Linked DNA regions of Homo sapiens: regions 1 and 3 are each linked to region 2. The links are contacts of gene promoters, found by promoter capture Hi-C in blood cells and fetal thymus (Javierre and others, 2016). All regions are on one chromosome and are shown on one strand. Each heading gives the region's core, a stretch centred on a gene start or on the middle of the fragment in contact. The rest is flanking DNA. Distances are from core to core; before and after follow the strand shown. Region 1 overlaps ZNF25-DT (ZNF25 divergent transcript). Region 2 holds the start of CUL2 (cullin 2). Region 3 overlaps ZNF33A (zinc finger protein 33A).

Evidence for each region. The method cuts DNA at HindIII sites, captures the fragments that hold promoters and counts their contacts. A CHiCAGO score of 5 or more calls a contact.
Region 1: a fragment that was not itself captured here is called in contact with the fragment with the promoter of CUL2 in region 2 in 7 of 17 cell types (total B cells, naive CD4 T cells, naive CD8 T cells and 4 more); the score reaches 14.5 in total B cells.
Region 3: a contact is called between a fragment that was not itself captured here and the fragment with the promoter of CUL2 in region 2, in 5 of 17 cell types (total CD8 T cells, total CD4 T cells, naive CD8 T cells and 2 more). The highest score is 16.4, in total CD8 T cells.

Annotation. Positions count from the first base shown.
Region 1 is chr10:37,979,933-37,984,249 of GRCh38, forward strand. ZNF25-DT (ZNF25 divergent transcript) reads left to right here. Exons shown (of 6, transcript XR_930830.4): 2 at 357-478. Among named protein-coding and RNA genes, the nearest start is that of ZNF25-DT, 5.3 kb to the left of the region's middle. The HindIII fragment of the contact is 7,521 bases long and covers 1-4,317 here.
Region 2 is chr10:35,088,054-35,092,571 of GRCh38, forward strand. CUL2 (cullin 2) reads right to left here and starts at 2,288. Exons shown (of 21, transcript NM_003591.4): 1 at 2,126-2,288. RefSeq lists silencers at 2,059-2,188, 2,209-2,408, 2,462-2,650 and an enhancer at 2,569-2,708. The HindIII fragment of the contact is 6,346 bases long and covers 1-2,624 here.
Region 3 is chr10:38,013,706-38,018,550 of GRCh38, forward strand. It overlaps ZNF33A (zinc finger protein 33A), which reads left to right. Exons shown (of 5, transcript NM_006954.2): 3 at 3,166-3,310; 4 at 3,586-3,681. Among named protein-coding and RNA genes, the nearest start is that of ZNF33A, 5.5 kb to the left of the region's middle. The HindIII fragment of the contact is 158 bases long and covers 3,514-3,671 here.

The DNA.
Region 1 (4,317 bases), core at 775-3,274, 2.9 Mb after region 2:
GATGCTAGTTTCGAAAAAGCACAGAAGATCCAAATATACATGAGAATTTAGTATATGTTAAAATTTTCATTGAAAACAAAACAGTGTGGACATATATATATACCTTTTTTTCTTTTCTTTCTAATTTGGTCTTGAGGTCTCTCTCTCCTAAGGGTGGCTATAAACTATCCCTGTGGGGCTCCTGGAATTTGGTGTCATGGATATTTGGTGTGCCATATGTTAAAAGTTTCATTTCAAATTTACTGAAAGTCCACTCTTAATTTTTAGAAGTTAGTAAGTTCCAAGAGAAGTAGCAATTTGAAGTCACTGGTGAAGGGTTCACACAAGGTGAATTTTTACATTTGGTTTCTCCACAGCATAAGGAATAAAACTGTTCTTTTGAAATGAAGAAGAGAACCACCTAGGAGACTATCACCCTGACCTGAGGACTTCACTAGGGATTCAGGAAAGAAGACACAGAAAGAAAGCAATCCTCAAGGTGTTATATCTGAATAGTTTAATTTTACTTAAAAATGTTTTTATTGAAGTATAAAAAATATAAAAGTATGCAATGGCATGTGTATCACTGTATAATTGATAAGTGAATGATGAAGAGAGGTAAACACAAACATGTAAACACCAAGGAGTTCAAAGACAATATTACCAGTGCCTGAAGTCTCCTTGAATGACCCATTCTTTATTGGTCATTTCTCTCCCTCTCAAAAGTAGCCCCATCTTGATTTCTGGTTTTTTTTTTTTTTTTTTGAGATGGAGTTTCTCTCTTGTTGCCCAGACTGGAGTGCAATGGCACGATCTCAGCTCACTGCAACCTCTGCCTCCTTGGTTCAAGTGATTCTCCTGCTTCAGCCTCCTGAGTAGCTGGGATTACAGGCATGTGCCACCATGCTTGGCTAATTTTCTGCATTTTTAGTAGAGACAGGGTTTCACCATGTTGGCCAGGCTGGTCTGGAACTCCTGACCTCAGATGATCCACCCACCTCGGCCTTGGAAAATGCTGAGATTACAGGCGTGAGCCACTGCACCCAGCCCCCATCCTCACTTCTAACAATAAAGACCAGTTTTGCAATTTATTATTGCAATTTCTTTTACTCATTTATTTTGAGGTAATCTTATTTTTAATTTTTTTTTTAGATAGAGTCTCACTCTATCACCCAGGCCGGAGTGCAGTGGTGCAATCTCGGCTTACTGCAACTTCCATCTCCCAGGTTCAAGCTATTCTTGTGCATCAGCCTCCCAAGTAGCTGGGATTACAGGTGTTTGCCACCATACCCGGCTATTTTTTTCTATTTTTAGTAGAGTTGGGGTTTCACCATGTTGGCAGGCTGGTCTTGAAATCCTGACTTCAGGTGATCTGTCCACCTCCACCTCCCAAAGTGCTGGGATTACAGACGTGAGCCACTGCACCTGGCCTGAAGTAATCTTTAACTTATAAATAAATTGCAAAAGTAGGATAAAGAATTCTCCTATAGGCCAGGCATGGTTGCTCCTGCCTGTAATCCCAGCATTTTGAGAGGCTGAGGCAGATGGATCACGATGTCAGGAGTTTGAGAACATAGTGAAACCCCATCTCTACTAAAAATATAAAAATTAGCTGGGTGTAGTGGTGCACACCTGTAAGCTCAGCTACTCAGGAGGCTGAGGCAGGAGAATTGCTTGAACCTGGGAGGCGGAGGTTACAGTGAGCCAAGATCATGCCATTGTACCCCAGCCTGGGTGACAGACTGAAACTCCATCTCAGAAAAAAAAAAATTGAATTATCATATATCCTTCACCAAGATAATTCCATCATTAATATTTTGGCACATTTGCTTCATAATTTTTGCTATTTGTGTATATTATGTATTTATTTTTCTTAATCATTTGAGAGTCAGTTGTAGGAATCATTCCACTTTACTCCTAAGTTCTTAGCTGTATATTTTCTATCAGCAAGGATAAAATTCTCAGATAACCATGGTACAGTGCTCAAAATCAGAAAAATTTAACAAAGATATAATATCTAATCTATAATGTACAGTCCATGTTCAAATTTCACTGATTGTCTCAATTAAGTCTTTTTTTTTTTTTTCTTGAGATGGAGTCTTACTCTGTCACCCAGGCTGCAGTGCTGTGGCACAATCTCGGCTCACTACAATCTCCCCTTCTCAGGTTCAAGTGATTGTCCTGCATCAGCCTCCTGAGTAGCTGGGACTACAGGCATGCACCACCATGCCCGGGTAAATTTTGTATTTTTTTTTTTAAGTAGAGATGGATTTTCACCATGTTATCCAGGATGATCTCGATCTCTTTACCTCGTGATCTCCCCATCTCATCCTCCTAAAGTGCTGAGATTACAGGCATGAGCCACTACGCCCAGCCTTCAATTAAGACTTTTATAGATAATTGTTTTTCTGATTCAAGATCCAATTCAAAAACTGTTTCTGGGCTGGGTGTGATGACTCATGCCTGTAATCCCAGTACTTTGGGAGGCCGAGGCGGGTGGATCACTTGAGGTCAGGAGTTTGAGACCAGCCTGGCCAACATAGTGAAACCCCATCTCTACAATAGATACAAAAACTATCTGGGCATATCAGGGGAACCTGCCCCCAATATTTCAACATAGGTTCTTTCTATTTTCCATAAGTGTCAGCCGGCTGAGAAAAATAAAGAGAAAGAGTACAAAGAGAGGAATTTTACAGCTGGGCCTCTGGGGGTGACATCACATCGGTAGGACCGTGATGCCCACCTGAGCCTTAAAGCCAGCAAGTTTTATTAAGGATTTCAAAAGGGGAGGGGGTGCAAGAACAGGGAGTAGGTCACAAAGATCACATGCTTCTAAGGGAAAAATCAGAAACTCCTAATAAGGGTCTAACAAAGATCACAAGACAAAGGGCAAAGGCAAAGATCACAAAGCAAAGGGCAAAAACAAGATCACAAGGCAAAGGGCAAAAGCAGAATTACTGATAAGGGTCTATGTTCAGTGGTGCACGTATTGTCTTTATAAACATCTTAAACAACAGAAAACAGGGTTTGAGAGCAGAGAACCAGGCTGACCTCAAATTTAGTGGGGCAGGGTTTTTCCCCACCCTAGTAAGCCTGAGGGTACTGCAGGAGACCAGGGCATATTTCAGTCCTTATCTCAACCATGTAAGACAGACACTCCCCTCGGGAGGCTGAGGCAGGAGAATGGCGTGAACCCGGGAAGCGGAGCTTGCAGTGAGCCGAGATTGCGCCACTGCAGTCCGCAGTCCGACCTGGGCGACAGAGTGAGACTCCGTCTCAAAAAAAAAAAAAAAAAAAAAAAAAAAGACAGACACTCCCAAAGAAGCCGTTTATAGACCTCCCCACAGGAATGCATTCCTTTCCCAGAGTATTAATCCTTGCTAGGAAAAGAATTTAGCGATATCTTCCCTACTTGCACCTCCATTTATAGGCTCTCTGCAAGAAGAAAAATATGGCTCTATTTTGCCCAACCCCGCAGGCAGTCAGACCTTATAGTTGTCTTCCCTTGTTCCCTGAAAATCGCTGTTATTCTATTCTTTTTCAAGGTGCAATGATTTCATATTGTTCAAACACACATGTTTTACATTCAATTTGTACAGTTAACACAATAGTGGTCCTGAGGTGACATACATCCTCAGTTTACGAAGATAATAGGATTAAGAGATTAAAGTAAGACAGGAGAAAGAAATTATGAAAGTATTATTTGGGAACTGGTAAATGTCTATGAAATCTTCACAATTTATGTTCCTCTGCCACGGCTCCAGCCGGTCCCTCTGTTCAGGGTCCCTGACTTCCCACAACACAGGTGTGGTGGCCCGTGTCTCCTGAGTTGGAAGAATCACTTGAACCCAGGAGGCAGAGGTTGCAATGAGCCGAGATCACGCCACTTCACGCCAGTCTGGGCAATAGAGGGAGACTCTGTCTAAACAAACAAACAAACCAAAACAAAAACCGTTTCTGGCCAAGGTGGAGTAACAAGGACTGGATTTACCCTCCTGCCTAAAACAACTGAAGAAACCAGATAAAATATATGAAACAATGTTTTCAAGTCACTGGATATCAGGCAATGAGCACAGTGACCCATGAAACATGAAATAAGTAAGCTCTACATTTGCCACAGCTTACTGCCTTAAAAGAGTTTCCAGGCTGTGGCACAAGGAGGGGGATCCCAGGCTGAGCGTCATAGACTCCTTGAATTGAGGAGACGCAGCTGAGAGTCCAGAGACACCAAGGCAGCTAGAGTTTGTAGGACAAATTACCAAGGAAGAGAGCTGCACAGAGAGAGACAGCTCTGGTGATCTTCAGAAGGTCCCCTTGAAAACTCAGCAGAGTGCTGTC
Region 2 (4,518 bases), core at 1,038-3,537:
CTCAGGAAGTTCTTTTCTGGTTACAGTATCTGAAGTAATCTCCCAATCACTACCACAACTCCTTACCTTATTTCCCACACAGCACTTATTCTCTGAGATTATTTCTTATATACTGTCTGTCTCTCCATCCCAAGCCAGAAGTGACACTCCAAGAGGATAGAAATTTAATGGGTTGGACAGGTGTGGTGGCTCACGCCTATAATCCCAGCACTCTGGGAGGCTGAGGAGGGCGGATCATGAGGTCAAGAGATCAAGACCACCCTGGCCAACATGTTGAAACCCAGTCTCTACTAAAAATACAAAAATTAGCTGGGCGTGGTGACGTGCGCCTGTAGTGCCAGCTACTCAGGAGGCTGAGGCAGGAGAATTGCTTGAACTGGGAGGTTGCAGTGAGCCCAGATCGTGCCACCGCACTTCAGCCTGGTGACAGAGCGAGACTCCGCCTCAAAAAAAAAAAAAAAAAAAAAAGAAATGTAATGTGTCTTGTTTACCCTTGTAACCTTAATGCCTGCAGCCCTGCTTGACAAATAAACCAGGTGCTTAATAAATATCTGTCAACTGCCAGACAACGCAAAAATGACTTTAAAGAAGGTCCATAACGTTTAATCTAGTGACAAACTGGTGAGGGTAAAAGACATGGATAATCTTCACATTTATAGAACACTGAAAGCCACCAGCAAGGATGGAGAATGAAGAGTATTTCAGATGCAGGAGAACATCCAAATACTCAAAAAGCAATTGAAAAGGAATTTTTCCCACGCTATGTGCATGCACATTGTAGAAATGTTCCCCCAACTCATAAACAGCAATTGAAAAAAACAAGTAATTCAAAACACTGTGGGCTGGGCGCAGTAGCTCAGGCCTGTAATCCCAGCACTTTGGGAGGCCTAAGCAGGCGAATCACCTGAGGTCAGGAGTTCAAGACCAGCCTGGCCAACATGGTGAAACCCCATCTCCACTAAAAATACAAAATTAGCCGGGCATGGTGGCGCATGCCAGTAATCCCAGCTACATGGAAGGCTAAGGCAGAAGAATTGCTTGAACCCGGGAGGCGGAGGTTGCAGTGAGCCGAGATCGCACCACTGCACTCCAGCCTGGGTGACAAGAGCAAAACTCCATCTCAAAACAAAAAAACTGTGTACTTCTCTTATCTCACGCGACTCTTTTGGAAGGATCTTCCAGATACTGTATAAGGGCAAAAGAAGCAAAGTATAGCTCATTTGTTCATGTGTCTGTCTTGAAAAGGAATGTAAGATTCTAAAGGGTAGGCAACAGTGTTTTGAATGTTTTTAAGCGATTATTATGTAGTCAGTTGTCAATCAGATCAAAGTGATTATTTCCGATACTTTACTACGAAGGTAGGCTTGGCCAGGTCTAGTTCAAAGACGTTTATGTTGAACAGTCACAATCTATAGCGAACGTTAATATTTTGCATCTTATCTTCAAAATTTAAACGCCCAGGGTACTGGCCTTCAACTGTTAATATTAATCCATGGGGCAAAGATGTGGACTTAACATTAATAACAGTCTGCAATTCACAGATGTTTTATTTGCATGCACGTAATGGTAGGGAATGGTCCAGACTCTCTAGAGGGTAAGCAAGTGCTAGAAAGCGTGTGAGGATCTTATTTCACCAGACCCTAAGGGTTGAGACAAGAAGTCTAGCATGCACGTAGGATACTCCTCCCCAAAGCTATCAATCTTTGCAGTCTGCGGAAACAAAAGTGAAAACACTCGGGGTAAGGATGCATGAGATGCCCCCCCCCACACACACACACAAACACACAGAGTTGTGTATTCGTGTGAGCACGTAAATATGTAGAAGAATACACGCACTCTCACCTTCCCTCCTTCGAAGGAAAATGGGGCCGCGGGAGAGGCGGCCAAGATCGGGTTGGGGAGGCCCGGGATCCAGTCCAGGGGGTGGCAGGGCTTACGGGTCAGCGCTCTGGGGAGCCGAGGTCACTTACAGGATACCATCTTCCCGGGCCTCCCCCTTTCATCCCTCTCCCCACACCTCGTCGCCCCCAACTCCTCTCCTCCGCCCCAGCCCCGCCACCCATTAACCGGGAAGGGAAGTTTCCCGGCGCCTGCAGCCCGGCTCCCCGACCCTCAGCGGGGTTACCTTCTGCAGAAGCAGGGCAAGGGGCAGGGGACAAGGGGAGGGGGAGGCAGCCCGAAGGAGTGAAAGACGAAGCCCCGGCGAGGAAGGTGGGCGGAGGCGGCGGCGGCGGCGGCTGTCAGCTCGCGTTCCCCTGCTCACAGCGCTGCCATTACTGTGCGCCGAGGCCGCCTCCCCGGCCGGCCGCCGCCACCGGCCCCGGAGACGCGGGGGGTGGGGAGCGAAGCCCGGGGAGCCCGCGCGCCGACACTCACCTGTCTCCGCGAGGAAAGACAGCAAAGTCCAAGGCCGCCGCCGCTCCCCGGCGGGACAGGGGCGGTAGGGAGGGGGGGAAAGGGGAGAAGGACGGGCCGATCACGGGATCCGTAAAACAATCGTCCTCCTCTGCCTCCGGCTTTGCCCAACACACACCCTCCGGTCTCCTTCTTCCGCTGCTGCCAAATCCCCCCCGCCACCCGGAAAGCAATGGTACAGGCCGCGTTACGGCAAGCGCAGGGAGCCAAGCTTCGTGTGATTGCGAAAGGCCACGGAAATTAATATTCCAAGTGATTCCTTGCTGGGCTTGCTGTCAATGAGGCAATTGCGGTTCGCTGAGCTGATGGACACAGTACCCACCCACTACCCGTTAGTTCAGGGACTGCTAATAACAATATGTTGGAATGGTGCTTTCAACAGAAGTATGTTTTCCTTGTTTCAGACCTATGTGAATATCCTAAGACACCACAATCCTCTTGCCACACACTTCCATGGGCTTTGCAAATGATCAAAAATAAATTAGCAAAACTACTTTTCCTCTCTGACAAACTCTTTTTCTTGTTAGTTTTTATCTACAGAGAATTTCTTGGACATACATGTATTTTCGATAAAGAAACTTCACATCTTTTTCACTAATACCCCACCTTCACCAAGCCCCAAGCCTATCAGTTTGAAGGGTTTTCCTCCCTTGGAGTTTTAAACGGTAAAGCTGATAAAAATATAGAATTACTCATCACCTCCTCATATATGCAGGGCCACAGAGGAACAAAAGCCCGGCCTTAGTGCTTTTTGCCTTTCATATCCTCAAGAGCTCACCATCAGGGTCTTGTTCATTTATACGATTCAGCAAGCTTTTCCCTCCCATCCCTTCCTTCCAAACTGCACGAACCCTTCAAGGCCCATTTAAAACCCTGCCTCCAGACCTGATCAGTCCCTAGAGCCTTCCTCCTCTTCTAATCTGCTTCTCTTGGTACTTGAAGTCTCTACTCTTTATTTCAGTAAAGGGTTTTTATATACGAAATTCAATCCAACAGTATGTTTCCATTATGTGACCTTTTTTTCCTCCCATGTTTTCCCCCTTTTAATCTAGTGATTCTCAAAGTGTGGTCCCCAGACCTCTGGAAATCCCTGAGACCTTTACAGAGGTCATAAGGTTAACAACTAGTTTGTTAACAATGCAATATGTCTGGTCCTTTTTTTTTTTGGATACAGAGTCTTGCTCTGTCACCCAGGCTGGAATGCAGTGGCGGCACAATCTCAGCTCACTGCAACCTGCACCTCCCGGGTTCAAGTGATTCTCCTGTCTCAGCTTCCCGAGTAGCTGGTATTACAGAAGCCCGCCACCACACCCGGCTAATTTTTTGTATTTTGTAGAGACAGGGTTTCACCATGTCACCACATTGCCCAGGCTGGTCTTGAACTCCTGAGCTCAGGCAATCCACCCACCTCAGCCTCCCAAAGTGCTAGGATTACAGGCCTGAGCCACCGTGTCAGGCCCCCCCTGCTTTTTGTTTTGTTTTGTTTTTGTTTTTGACACAGGGTCTCCCTCTGTCGCTGAGGCTGGAGTGCAGGAGTGCAGTGGCCTGATCATAGCTCACTGCGGCCTCAAACTCCTGGGCTCAAGCGAGTGTACCATCTCAGTTTCCGAAGCAGCTGTGACTACAGGCGCGTGCGCCACCACACCCAGCTAATTTTTGTATTTTTGGTAGACATGGGGTCTCACTATGTTGCCCAGGCTCCTCTGGAACTCCTGAGCTCAAGCGATCTGCCCACCTCAGCCTCCCAAAAGTTCTGGGATTACAGGAGTGAGCCACCATGCCTGGCCTCCTCTGTCTTTTTGACTGAGTTTGTTTTTGTACTGATGGTGCAAAGGAATACGGACACTATTGATGCCTTAGCAGGGATCAAGACAGTGCCACCAACCTGTCCGGGTGGTCATTGGATCGCTGTATTCTTCACTGCCATACATTCCCAGTTTTTAAGGCTATTGATTTAGGAATATCCTGGATGAAGCGGAAGCATTAATTTTATTAAATTTTGGCCCTTGAATACAAGTCTTTCTAATACTCTGTGTGAAGAAATGGGAAGTACACATGCACTTCTGCATGCCAAAGTGGGATGGCTGTCTTGAAGAAAAGCAC
Region 3 (4,845 bases), core at 2,343-4,842, 2.9 Mb after region 2:
TTGGCCTCCCAAAGTGCTAGGATTGTGTATTTTAATTTTTAATGAATCTTATTTCTACATGTGTAGCAGATAGATACACAACCCCCTAAATTTTAAATATAGAACTTAATGAATTATTACAAATCCGTGGCACAAATAATGAATACACAGGTCAAAACAAACATTGCCAGCACTCCTGAAGCTGCCGTCTTGTCCCCCTCACAATCCTGACACCTCCCTGCTCATTCATTCATTTACATATAAGCCACAGTATCTGGCTTCAGTGGCAGAGTTGAATAGTTGTGACAGGAACATTTTGGCCTGCAAAGCCCCAAATTTAATGATGTCTGATTTTTTTTTTTTTTTTTTTTTTTTTTTTGGAGAGAGTCTCACTGTCACCCAGGCTAGGGTGCAGTGTGCGATCTTGGCTCACTGCAGCCTCTGCCTTCAGGGCCCAAGGGATTCTCCTGGCTAAGTCTCCCAAGTAGCTGAAATTACAGGCACGCGCCATCACACCTGGCTAATTTTGTATTTTAGTAGAGACAGGGTTTTACTTGGCCAGGCTGGTCTCAAACTCCTGGCCTCAAGTGATCCGCCTGCCTTGGCCTCCCAAAGCACTGGGATTACAGGTGTGAGCCACCGTGCCTGGCCAAATATTTAATGTCTGATTTTTTACAGAAGAAGTTTACCAATCCCTAGATTAGTTTATTACGTTTATTTGTTGCTGGTGTGTACTAGTCTAGATGACTTTTCCTACTTCAAGGTTATGAAGATACTCTTGTTACCTTTTAAAATATTTCTTGTTTTGGCATTCACATTTACATCTCTTTCATTGGAATGAGTGTCTACTTCTGTATGAGGTAGATGTCAGATTCCTTTTTTCATGTGGTTAATGTAGAATTATTTTTGAAAACACCATCCTTTCCCCACTGTTTTACATTGTGATATTTGTCATCAATTATGTGTACATATATGTCTGTGTGTTTTTTGGGCTATGTTCTGTTGGTTGGTTGTGCCAGTACCACACTTGGTGAAACATCTTAGCGTCTAGTAGCTGGTTTAACACATTTTTTCTTCAGCAAGATCCTGGCTCTTCCTAGTTCCTTGCATTTCCATACAAATATTGTTAGTATTAATAAAATAACTTGCTGAGACTTTCTTTGGGGTTGAATTGAACCTATATATAAATTTGGGAAGAATTACTTACCTTTTTTTTTGAGACAGAGTCGCCCAGGCTGGAGTGCAGTGGTACGATCTCAGCTTATGCAACCTCCACCTCCCGGGTTCAAGTGATTCTCCTGCCTCAGCCTCCCGAGGAATTGGAATTACAGGCACCTGCCACCACACCTGGCTAATGTTTTTGTATTTTTAGTAGAGACACGGTTTTGCCATGTTGGCCAGGCTGGTCTTGAACTCCTGACCTCAAGTGAGCCACCTGCCTTGACCTCCCAAAGTACTAGGATTATAGATGTGAGCCACTGTGCCTGGCCTCCAATTCCATTCTTGATTATTTTCTTTCCCCAGTTTTCTGACAACCTTCTGATTTTCTCTTGATGGCTTTGAACACCACTATATTATAAATGTCTTTGTAGTCCTTGTTTCATTCTTGATCTTCATATTATGCTTCATTTTTTTTTGAGTTGGAGTTTTGCTCTTGTTACCCAGGCTGGAGTGTAGTGGTGCTGACCTTGGCTCACTGCAACGTCTGCCTCCCAGGTTAAAGGGATTCTCCTGTCTCAGCCTGGTGTCTCAGCGGGTGTCTCAGCTGGGATTACAGACACCCGCCAACACGCCTGGCTAATTTTTTGTATTTTTAGTAGAGATGGGGTTTCACCATTTTTGTCAGGCTGGTCTCTTAACTCCTGAGCTCAGGTGATCCACCCACCTCAGCCTCCCAAAGTGCTGAGATTACAGGTGTGAGCCACCATGCCAAGCCTATGCTTCAAATTTAATATAATTAGGATGTTTCTTACTAGAATACTGTGTCCAACCTATATAGCCCTAACTTTCCTGGTTTACATTGTGGCCCTAGTATCTGGGCAGCTGTGCATGGAGATAGCCAGAGGAAACATTTTTTTTCTTAATGAATTGGTGACCACATTTTGTTGTTCTTGCCTCCTATTATCCGTGCCCTATTTGCATCCTGGTTTCTTCTACAGTAGTTTATGTAAATGTTGTTTTGTCCTTTGTCGTTCTCAGTAGAATTGGTTCTGTAAACGAAACCTGGTCCTGTAATTTCAGTATATGCTCATATCTCATCTTTGGCTCTCCCATTTTCACAGCAGTGATCCCTAAAAGATGTGCCCTAGAGGATATCCAGAACAATCCAATTGGATGTCTTCTCCGCTGTACTCCACAGAGGTTTCAAATATAATGGTTCCAAAATCTTTCCATTTTCTACACATCCTTATTATTGTCTCTGAATTAAAGGATTAGAACCCAGAATATGTATTGCGATGAAGAAAATGTCAGGCTCTTTTTCTACATTTTTAAATCCAAATGAGAGTTAAATTAGAATTCATAATGAATGTACTGACAATTTATTTCTGTGATTTGTAAATATAAATCTGTAGTTCTCAGTAATATTCTTGAAAATGGTAAATGATCAAATACTTTGGAGACCATTGGTCTAAAATTACTCTATAACCCATTTCCTTGGCTTTTTTTCTCAAGACAGCACCAGGCCATCTCCTGTGCTGTCTGCCATTTTGTTGATGTCTGCAGTGTGTTGGAGGCCCTCACCTTTGCTTGTATCATGGCCCTATGCTTATGAAGAACGTAATAGAGTGTTTTTCATAATTCAACCAACAGCTGTACTTCCTCAGTTAAGCTCAAAACAGAGCCAACTTTGCTCCTAATGTTAGTCTACTGTGTTTGTACTTTCACCTTAGTACTTGTAACATATTACCACACATATTTTCTTACCACTCTGTGTGTTCTTTGAACACAGGAAGATTTTTATTAATCTTAGTATTTCCAGCAGTGATGATAGTTCCAGGTACTTTGTAGGAACTTGATAATTTCTTTTGCATGAATTAATATCTTAATGCATTAATGGCAGAATATTTCTGTTATGATTTCTTTTTCCCTAAAAGTATAAAACAAAACAATATTCTGTGAATAATAATCATGGTAAGGATTAGCCCATACTTCTTTTTTCATGCCACCTAATTCTGAATGTTTCAGGTAGAACAGAAGTCCCAGGAGTCAGTATCATTTAAAGATGTGACTGTGGGCTTCACCCAGGAGGAGTGGCAGCACCTGGACCCTAGTCAGAGGGCTCTGTATAGAGATGTGATGCTGGAGAACTACAGCAACCTTGTCTCAGTGGGTAAGGTCTGTTCACTGTATCATTCTAAATAGCATTTGTTTATTCTTTTGATTATGAAGCGTATGGGCAGTCTGTATAGTTTAATGATATTTAAGGTTAGGCTTCAGGAGTCAGTGTTGATTGATCACCTCTGAGTACCAGAAGATACTTGTGTTCACCTCTCCAGTGAAAATGTTCCACTGGCAACTCGAAGCAGCCCCAGAAGCTTCTTCCTGCTTCAAAGGCCTGAAGTCTAGACTGCTTGGTCCAAATCCTAAATTATTTCCTGTTAACAGGGTATTGTGTTCACAAACCAGAGGTGATCTTCAGGCTGCAACAAGGAGAAGAGCCATGGAAACAGGAGGAAGAATTCCCAAGCCAAAGCTTTCCAGGTGAGTTAATATGTACTGCACAGATTCACATCAGGGGATTTGTTGTTTCCCAGTAGTTAATTCAGGGTTTGGCAACTTTGGAAGATTTTTCAAGAACATCTCCATAGGGATCCTAACCTCTGGAAGTGATGGAGAATATTGATTCCTAAATCAAACTTCCAGATACTACTCACAAAAAATTCCTCCTTTTTGAATCGTTTTTTGAATGTTTACTATTCTTACACCTGCCAATAGTTCAGTCTTTGCCCACCTCAACTTTACTGTTGTTTTTCTTGGTTATCATTTTTCTCCAAGCACTTTCAGTGTCCTACCTTGCCTCCCTTGTTTTGTGTTTATTCTGTTGTCAGAATTTTTTATACACTCATTTTTAAACTCAGCAAATAATGTTTGCATACTTGCTGTGTGCTGAGGATATAATGATGAAAAACATTAGGCTGGGTGTGGTAGCTCACACCTGTAATCCCAGCACAGGTCGAGGCAGGCAGATCACTTGAGGTCAGGAGTTCCACAACAGCCTGGCCAACATGGTGAAACCCCGTCTGTACTAAAAATACTAAATTAGCTGGGTGTGGTGGCAGGTGCCTGTAATCCCAGCTAACTGGGAGGCTGAGGCAGGAGAATCACTTGAACCCAGGAGGCAGAGGTTGCAGTGAGCTGAGACTGTGCCACTGCACTCCAGCCTGAGCAACAGAGTGAGACTTTGTCTCAAAAATAAGTAAATAAATATAAAAAAATAAATTATGCCTCTAAGTATATTATGTATACCTATATGTATATGTATATTAAATGTTCTGTGGTTTTAAAGACTATGAAAGAAATTAAAGCAAGTTAGATTGGCTGAATGTGGTACTTTAAAGAACAGTCAGGGGAAACCTTAATGAGGTCAACATTAGAGCAGAGATTTGAATGAAATGACTGTGTGAGCCATGAGGATTCTGACCCTTTTCAGCAGGGGTAATAGCAGCTGCTAGCCTTGGGCAGGAATGTGGTTGGTGGGTTTCAGGAATAACCAAAAAGTCACAGTGGCTGAAGGGAGGGGTTGATTGGAGGAAGGGCAGGAGGTGAGGTGAGGGAGACAGCTAGAGTCCAAAGGTGAGCCCATCATAAGCCTTATTCAGTTAATTTTATTTTTAATTTAGTGGTAGATTTTCAGCAGATGAGCAA